Linked DNA regions of Homo sapiens: all the other regions are linked to region 1. The links are contacts of gene promoters, found by promoter capture Hi-C in blood cells and fetal thymus (Javierre and others, 2016). All regions are on one chromosome and are shown on one strand. The core of a region is centred on a gene start or on the middle of the fragment in contact, and the rest is flanking DNA. Distances in the headings are between cores, read along the strand shown.

Region 1 (2,747 bases), core at 88-2,587:
AAGGCTACTGATCTATCTGTGTAGACAGGCAAGAATAAAACAACTGGAGAAGAAATCCAGGATTACACAAAAAGAAGAGCGTGATGGTATGGTAGACTACTCCAGAACAGTGAATTTCCCCTGCATTAAGGATGAGATCCCTATGAATTGGGATCATTCAGGAAGTCTTCTTGGAGAAGAAAAGTTTGAGCATATGGGGAAAAAAAGTTGGATTGGCAAAGAGCTGAGCTGTCAGTAGCTGGGTCCTTAGTAAGTAGGCTGCATGGAGCTGGGAGTTATGCTAAAGGAGTTGTAATTTGGGATGCCTCTAATTAACCATTTTGGGAAAAATATAATAAATCCCTTTGTAGCATCTATAATAAACTGCCCAATATCTATGTGGTGGGGAAAAAGTTTTATTCTACGTTTCACGTGGATGGTGATAACACTAGGTAATCTCAGCATCTTTCTTATTCTCTTGCTAATCCAGGATTCTAAGTAATAATCACTTTGTTCTACAACCTGAATCTAGCCCTTGTACTGTGCAGTTTTTTTCTACACTTATTTTTCCTGTTGTCTGAATCAATCTCCATGGAAGCATAAGTTTTACTGAGTTTCAACCAGCTGTGTCCACCGAGGTAAAGATGGTAAAAATAAAAGGCACAGGGCATATATACCACAGCAGCAGTTACTTCCCACAAGGAACCAGAGATTGGAAGTGAAGCTAAAACATTTTCAGCTACGATAGCATCTCTTTCAAGGTGAGCCATTTCCCCAGGGAGAGTTTCCAGCTCTTAGCAAAGGCAGAACAATAAAACATCAAGGATGTCTTTCTAAGGCTGCAAACAGAATAGCCAATACCTTGAAGCTGATCTGCTTCAGAGTCCTTTAAAAGCCAGGACAGCAACAAAGTGCCCACATTACATTTTCTACAAGCTTGCTAAGCATCTCTTTTCCTAAACCACAAAACCCGAGACATTTCTACAGAACAGGCAGAAAGGGAAGTCCTGGGAGATCAGGGCCCTGTCTCAGCAGGCATCACTCCAGCCTGTCTTTTCCCGAGTGGTTTTCTGCACTTCTCTTCCATCTTTTCCCCTCTGTCCCACACTGGAAGTCACTAGTCTGTGCCCTCCTTACCTCCCATGGTTTCTGCACCTTCATTTCCAAAGGCAAGTGAAAACAGTGCCAGGCTGCGCACATGGGTTACTCCAGGGACTTCTCTTCCCGTTTCCCCTAAAGCATTTGACAGTTAGATCTTGGAACTGAGTCCAGCAGCACTGAGGTCAGAGAGATGGCTAAAGCTAAAAGCAAACTGGATGCTGTTCAGGAGGTTCTCCTTTGTCATTTTTATCTCCAAATAGAAGACCTCTGTTTTCCCAGAAGATTAAATAGTAGAAAAGAAGTAGCCCAAGGTGGGTGACTCTGCAAACAGGTGGGTGAGGTCTCTAGTTGAGTGAGGGGGTGTCTGTGGGTTGTGGGTTCTTCTTATGAGCAGAGCTTGGAGGAATTTGTTCTATTTGTTGTGGTTTTCCCAGGGGGAAGTCGGGGGTGGCTGGGACTCTAATGATCATTATCAGAAGACTTTGGATTAGGCCTCTGAAACTTTAAGATGTGGATCCTCTCGCAATCATGTTAAAATGCAGATCTCCTTTCAATAGGTCTGGGACAGAGCCTGGCTTTTCTATAAAGCTTCTGGTGATGGGATGTCGCTGGTTCTCAGCCACAATTTGAGTAGCAAGAGGTTAGCTTTTCTACTTACTGCCTTCATATCCCCAGTTGGGCTATGTCGTTTTATCAAAACAATGTGGTAAGAGTGAGCGCCAATTACTAGCCTGTTGAATCATCCATTGTTAGAGCTGTTTCTTTGAGGTACATTTAAGAGGCCCCTCCCTGTGGTTCCCCATTGCACAAGAAGCCCATTTGCCAGGCAATACCTTGGGCAAGCAAGCCACTGTGCAAAATTGCATTGGCTCTTCCTGCTGCCAGCCAGGCGGCTGCTGGTTGACGTTGGAGTTGTACAGTTTATGTGATAGTGATGACAGCGCTGGCTCTGAAGGGTACTGAAGATTTTGAAGGGGTACTTCGCTGCAGCAGCTTCACCTCTCACTTTTGTTTACCCACCCCCGAGGCTTGTGGGAGAGAAGGATCAGGCAGAGCTCTGCACGTGCCATGCCAGGGGTGGAGGAATTATATTTTTATTTTTTGCTTTCTCTGCTACAGGACATACCATGCCTTTTACAGATATTTATAGGACAATTTCCCTCCTGAGAGTGCCCAAGCATGGGGGATGGTGAGGAAGATGACTGAAGGAGAAAGCAGGAAAAGGGGGTGTCTGCATGTATGAGGATTGGAAGGTGGGGAAAACCCTTCGTGTTTGGTTCAGCCTTCAAGAAAGAGGAGGGGTTGACTAGATTACAGATGTTAAACCAGGGGTCTGTGGTTCAAACCAGCAACTCTCTGCCCTTGTAAGCTGTATCTGGCTGGTGTGTTAATTTGTCTAGGGTAAGAGCCCCTAGGTTTCAACAGATTGTCCTAGAGTCAATGATACACAAAAGGTTAATCAGCCTCATTTCCAATCAGGATCATCTGCAAGTCCCTCCCAGAGCAGATATTTGGAGCACTAGGCTTCTAGAAGCAGCAGACATCAAGTTCGGGCCATGGGATTAGGGTGGACAGGGCAGCCACTTGGAATCATTTTCTACCAGAGGCAGAAGAGGCTCAGCTAGCAACAGCCCCATTTTACAGAGCAGAAGCCGAGCTGCAGTCAA
Region 2 (2,700 bases), core at 88-2,587, 77 kb after region 1:
CTCTAAAGTAAGTGATCTTTTTCTATACTTTTATGGAATTATATTTTTAATACACTGGCACTTTGGGGATACTTACTCTAAATGATGAACATACCAATTGTTTCTATAACCCTGGAGCCAAATTTAGGCAGATTTCTAATGGAGTCTGGTTCCCCAGGGTTCTGTCCTTGACTCACACTGTTCCATTTAAGAGACTCCTATTGGGTGATCTCATTCAGTCTCGTGGTCTCAACTAATAGCTATGTCCTGATGACTTCCAAATATTTAATTCAGCCCATCCTCTTTACTGAGCTTCAGACTCCTATGCCCCTATCCATGGAGCATCTCCACTGGAGTATACCTCAGGCACCTGTCATACAACCTTTCTAAAACTTCTTCCTCTTTTGCCTAGACTTCTTCCTAGGCACATGATCTCTCCTAGCTAATGGCACTGCCATCCACTCAACCTTCTAGCTAAACACCTGGAAATGATTTCCGGTTTCTTTTTTACCCTGAATCCACCCAAATACTAAGTCCTATCAGCTTTACTTGCTATTATCTCTTATGCCTTTCTCATCAGCCCTACCATCACTGTCTTAGTTCAGGTCCTCATTATCTTGTTACTTGGAACTCTGCAACTGCCTCAAAATGAACCTCTCCCTTGCAACCTGGCTGCTGCTTACCATGGGTATGTCCACACATGCCATGCCCCCCACCCGCACGTAAAAGTAAAATATAAATCCACTCATGTCATAAGACCTGCTGAGAATTCTTCAAAGGTTACCTGCTCCATAAAGCCCAGACTCCCTGGCATGGAATTTGTGTCTGACACTGCAAGTTTTCTATCAAATAATGATTCTTTCCCTTCTTAATAATGGAATGCTGATTTTTAGCTGGAACATGGCCACTTGTAATACTGTATTTCTTGGCTTTCACTGGAGCTAGACTCAGCCATATGATCAAGTTCTGGCCAATTCCATGGTAAGTACTGTGTGGAATTCCAGGAGGCCCCTTAAAGGGAGCTGACTCAGTTTGGAGGAATGCCCTCTAGCCCTTCTTACTACATGGAATTGGAATAGAGAGATGATTCCTAGATCTTCAGCAACCATTTAGACAAGGACGTGACCCTGTCTACAGCAGAACAGAAAGCACAGAAATCTGGGTTGCAAATGACTCCACGGAGCTTCCATGGCGGGGCTGGACTACCTACCTCCAGGCTTTTCATGTGAGAGAGCACTATGTTTCCATCTGGCTTAAGCCACTGTCATTTTTATGTTTCCTGTGATAGGCAATGGAGCAAAGTCCTAAGTGACCCAGAATTCAAACATCTCAAGAACAGTAAGTGCTTAATACTTCATTTCTGCAGCCTCCTCTAGCCTTCCCTCTTCCCATGCCTCCAACTTCAGGCTCCAGTGCTACCAAAGTTCCTGTCATTTTCCACTTTAACTACACATTCACCACACTTCTCTGCTTTGCTCAAACTTGCTCCCCTACCTAAACACCCTCCTTATCTTTGTTCAGCTTTTAACTCTTCACACTCAGCTCAGGCATCACCTCCTCCAGGAAGTTTGCCTGAACATCCATCTTAGGGCAAGTGGCCATTCTGTCTGCTCCCAAGATACCCTGGGAAAACTCCAATTTTGGAACCCAGCTGCCATGACTTATTAATGGCTATCTCTCTCACCCCACAGAAAGCGCCTCAAAGGGCAGACATCTCATCTACTCATCTTGTATCTACACCTCCTAATGCAACATCCGGCACTAGGTGGCAGCTCAGGAAATATGTTCTGATCTCAACTGGATTTTTCTCACTGCAATGGAGTAAACAGGGTTGAATGCCTCAAAATGTCTTGGTTTGCTCTTCATGCCAGCTGTAAGTTGAAGACTGAAACAAAATTTTCTAGCCATATTTTTGTTTTCCTGGAGATGGAAAGCAAACAGCAGATGAGTCATCCGAAGAGAATATCCACTATGAGAAACAATTTTTGGACGTTTCACACCTGAAGTCCCTCATCTGTAAAAGATAACTTGGCCCTTAGCAACGTTTGAGGTCTCCTCTGGCTCTAATATTTTATAAACCCATTGTTGAGTATAAATGCACAGACCTGGACACAGAGAACTCACTGTGAATAGATGGCTCCTCCAGGGATTGGCAACATGACCGGCCTTACCTAACCTTCAAATAAATTATTTACAAGGAGTGTTTAATAAAATCTTGAAGTCATCAGCTGACTGAACACTGTAGGATAATAAAATGCCAAGTGAAGTAAGATACGCTTCCTAGACTCCAGCCAGGCTGGCCTGCTCTAAAAACCCCTGACCTTGCCACACTCCTTCCTGTTACTGGGCATCTATCTGCGTTTGCTGTTTCTTCTGTCTCAAATGTTCCTTCCTTCCCTCTTTACCGTGACCTCAGCCCAAGAGTCACTTCCTTATAAAAATCTTCCATCTTTCCCTAACTGGATAGAATCACCCTATTCTAGGTTCTCATTCACTGCATTGTATTTCTCCTCTTCATAGCACTAGTCATGGTTGCTACTTTTTATTGGTATAATCATTTGATTGACATCTTTCTCCCTCACTGGATCATACCCTCCACTGGCGAGTATTTTTGTTTTTGCTCATACCATTACATCCATATCCTTGGCAGAAGGGTGACGCTCAACAAATACTTGTTAAAAGATCTCCAGAGGCCATGCAAGGGTGCAGAACAGTGGCTGA
Region 3 (2,782 bases), core at 23-2,522, 120 kb after region 1:
ACCAAATTGAAAGTGCCCAGAGAACTGGTCTTTTTATATGAGGGGATCTCAAAACCATCCTTCACACAGAAATACTTTATTTTTTGAGGTATTTGGTTTTTTCCTGGTTAGCTTGGTAAAGGCTTATCAATTAATCCTTTCAAAGAATCAGCATTTGATTTCATGGATTTTCTCTGTTGTTTTCCTATTTTCAACTTCACTGATTTCTGTTCTAATTGTATTATTTCTTTTCTTATGCTCGCTTGAGGCTTAAATTTATCTTCCTTCTCTAGTTTCCTAAGGTGGAAATTTCGAATCTTGGTTTTAGATCTTTCTACTTTCCTACTGTATGCATTTAATGATATATACATTCCCATCTGAGCACTGCTTTTGCTGGATCACACATATTTTTATAAGTTATATTTTCATTTTCACTTGACTCTAAATATTTTTTATGTTCTCTTGAGTCTTCTTCTTTGACCCATGTGTTACTTAGAATGTGACATTTAACCTTCCAATATTTGGGGATTTTCCAGCTATCTTACAGTAATTGATTTCTAGTTTAATTCCATTGTGGTCTAAGAAGATACCGTTTATGGTTTCTCTTCTTTTAAATTTGGTAAGGTATGTTTTATGGCCCAGAATGTGGTCTATGTTGGTAAATGTCCCCTGTGAGCCCGAGAAGAATGTGAAAACTGCTGTTGTTGGATGAAGTATTCTATAAACGTCAATTTCACCTAGTTGTGATAATGCTGTTTAGATCACCTATATCCCTACTGATTCCCTGCCTGCTGGATCTATCAATTACTGAGATATTGAAGTCTCCAACTATAGAAGTGGATTTGTTCATTTTTCCTTGTGATTCTATCAGTTTGTCCCATGTATTTTGATTCCTGTTGCTAGGTACATACATACATGTTAAAAATTGTTATGTACTACTACACTGGTCTTTAAATAAAACAAAACAAATAAAAATGTTAAGTCTTCTTGGAAAACTGACCCCTTTATTGTTGTCCCCTCTTTATTCCTGATAATTTTCCTTTTTCTGAAGTCTGCTCTGTCTGAAATACCTATGCCAGTTTGCTTTTGATCAGTGTTAGAATGGCATACCTCTCTCCAACCAGGCATTTGGTTTTATATGCCTTAGGGAGACATCACCAAAGTGGTGTCTGCATGTCTCCTAACTAATAGTCTTCCCTGCTCTTTACATAGCAGGTGACCCACTGAAAATCAGGCCATCAAATATCCAGGCACTATAGGACAAAGAGAAAAAGAAATAAAATAACAATAGAGATGTATCTTAAATCCCATGTTTTAAACTCAAAACCATAATCTTGTTTATCCAGAGCTTCTCAACTTATCTTGGTGTGCATAAGATGGGCTACCATGGACTGCAGGGCATATTCCTGTGCTCACAGGCCCATGCCACAAAGTGACAGCGATTCTGGCTTGTGAACTGTCTTCTCACTTGGGACTGAGATTAACAGCATACAGGTCAATTATTGCTGTCATATTGATTATATATTTGTTTTTTCCTAACTTTGAAAGTTCAATGGAATTGTTCATACATAGTAAAGTCAAAATTAGATCCAAGAGTATGTCTTATTCAGTCCATCCAAGGGAAGTAATGTTTTACCTCACATCTTCCAGAAGAGAAGGTGAGATTTTCTTATCCACACATAGGCTACTGCTCTAGGATATGTGGTGCTATTTTATCAATCATCCACATAGTGAAACAGGTACCATGTGTATAAACTATGTGATGATACTCATGTCAAAGGTTAAGGGGGAACCCAAATGACAGGCAAGCCTGATGGGCCTGGCTAAACCACCTGACTGAGGGCTCTTCTTCCATTCCTGCCATTGTATTTCTTTCCAATTATGCTAGAAACACTAGTAAATTGGTTTCATCTTAGATTGTGAAAACTAAATATAACATGTAGTAACTTACAAGATCACTGACAGCTTAACTTTGAACATTTCTCACTTTTTTTTTTTTTTTTTGAAATCATAACATTTCAAAAAACAACTTGGATAATAGCTTATGTTCCCTGGACGGGGAAAAAGAGAAAACAGCAGTGTGCTACTTTTCATCCCTATCTATTATCAATAGGATTGTAAAAAACAAAAGTTTATCTTCAAAATTTAAGAGTATGCTCACAAAATCACATTACCTTTTAGTACTCTCATGTTACTGCAGAGACAAGACTTTAAACAATGAAAATTTATTAGGTATCCTGGCTTTAGAAATAAAAACGTCCCCTTTACATTGTCTAAAATATGGCCAAGATCTCACCAAACTAAAGAGTTGTATCTACACAGGGGTTTCCTTTGACCTACAGAGAGTTATTTATCACAATATTAAGGGAAGATACCCTGTTTTCTCTTGGTATAATCATTTCTTTTAACATAGGAACAAAATGAAACATGGTTTTAAAAATGTTTCCTTACCTTGGCACTGATAACCCTGTTTCCCAAACACTCCCCTGTTGAAGAGAAGAAAACTACCATCAGTCAAGTATTTCAGCAATAACCCTCTTATAGTCCTTAAGGAAAACAAATTTCATCCTCTCCTCCTTTATGAAAAACACAATTTCAGGGAAGAAGCAAAGATCATGTGCTTTCTGAGCCATTGTTTGTTACTATGAGACACCAGAAAAAACCATGTGCTGGATTAGAATGTGCTGTATGATACAAATGGGTGGGTAAAAACCATTCCCATTCCATCTACCTCCATGGCAATTTCCTAAGTCCTCAGTGGCAATAAATCCTCATCTGTACGTGTGATTAAGCCTTGGCCTGA

What was found. The method cuts DNA at HindIII sites, captures the fragments that hold promoters and counts their contacts. A CHiCAGO score of 5 or more calls a contact.
Region 2: a contact is called between a fragment that was not itself captured here and the fragment with the promoter of LINC03033 in region 1, in 7 of 17 cell types (neutrophils, monocytes, activated CD4 T cells and 4 more). The highest score is 17.5, in neutrophils.
Region 3: a fragment that was not itself captured here is called in contact with the fragment with the promoter of LINC03033 in region 1 in 2 of 17 cell types (activated CD4 T cells and neutrophils); the score reaches 8.1 in activated CD4 T cells.

Annotation. Positions count from the first base shown.
Region 1 is chr14:61,569,130-61,571,876 of GRCh38, reverse strand. It overlaps LINC03033 (long intergenic non-protein coding RNA 3033), which reads right to left and starts at 1,337. Exons shown (of 3, transcript NR_039985.1): 1 at 1,117-1,337. It overlaps LINC01303 (long intergenic non-protein coding RNA 1303), which reads left to right and starts at 1,224. Exons shown (of 5, transcript NR_110416.1): 1 at 1,224-1,391; 2 at 2,200-2,333. RefSeq lists a silencer at 2,047-2,239 and an enhancer at 2,631-2,747. The HindIII fragment of the contact is 753 bases long and covers 918-1,670 here.
Region 2 is chr14:61,491,715-61,494,414 of GRCh38, reverse strand. All of the region lies in intron 10 of PRKCH (protein kinase C eta), which reads right to left. Among named protein-coding and RNA genes, the nearest start is that of PRKCH-AS2, 52 kb to the left of the region's middle. The HindIII fragment of the contact is 5,736 bases long and covers 1-2,700 here.
Region 3 is chr14:61,445,375-61,448,156 of GRCh38, reverse strand. PRKCH (protein kinase C eta) reads right to left here. Exons shown (of 14, transcript NM_006255.5): 4 at 2,431-2,465. Among named protein-coding and RNA genes, the nearest start is that of PRKCH-AS2, 99 kb to the left of the region's middle. The HindIII fragment of the contact is 6,096 bases long and covers 1-2,782 here.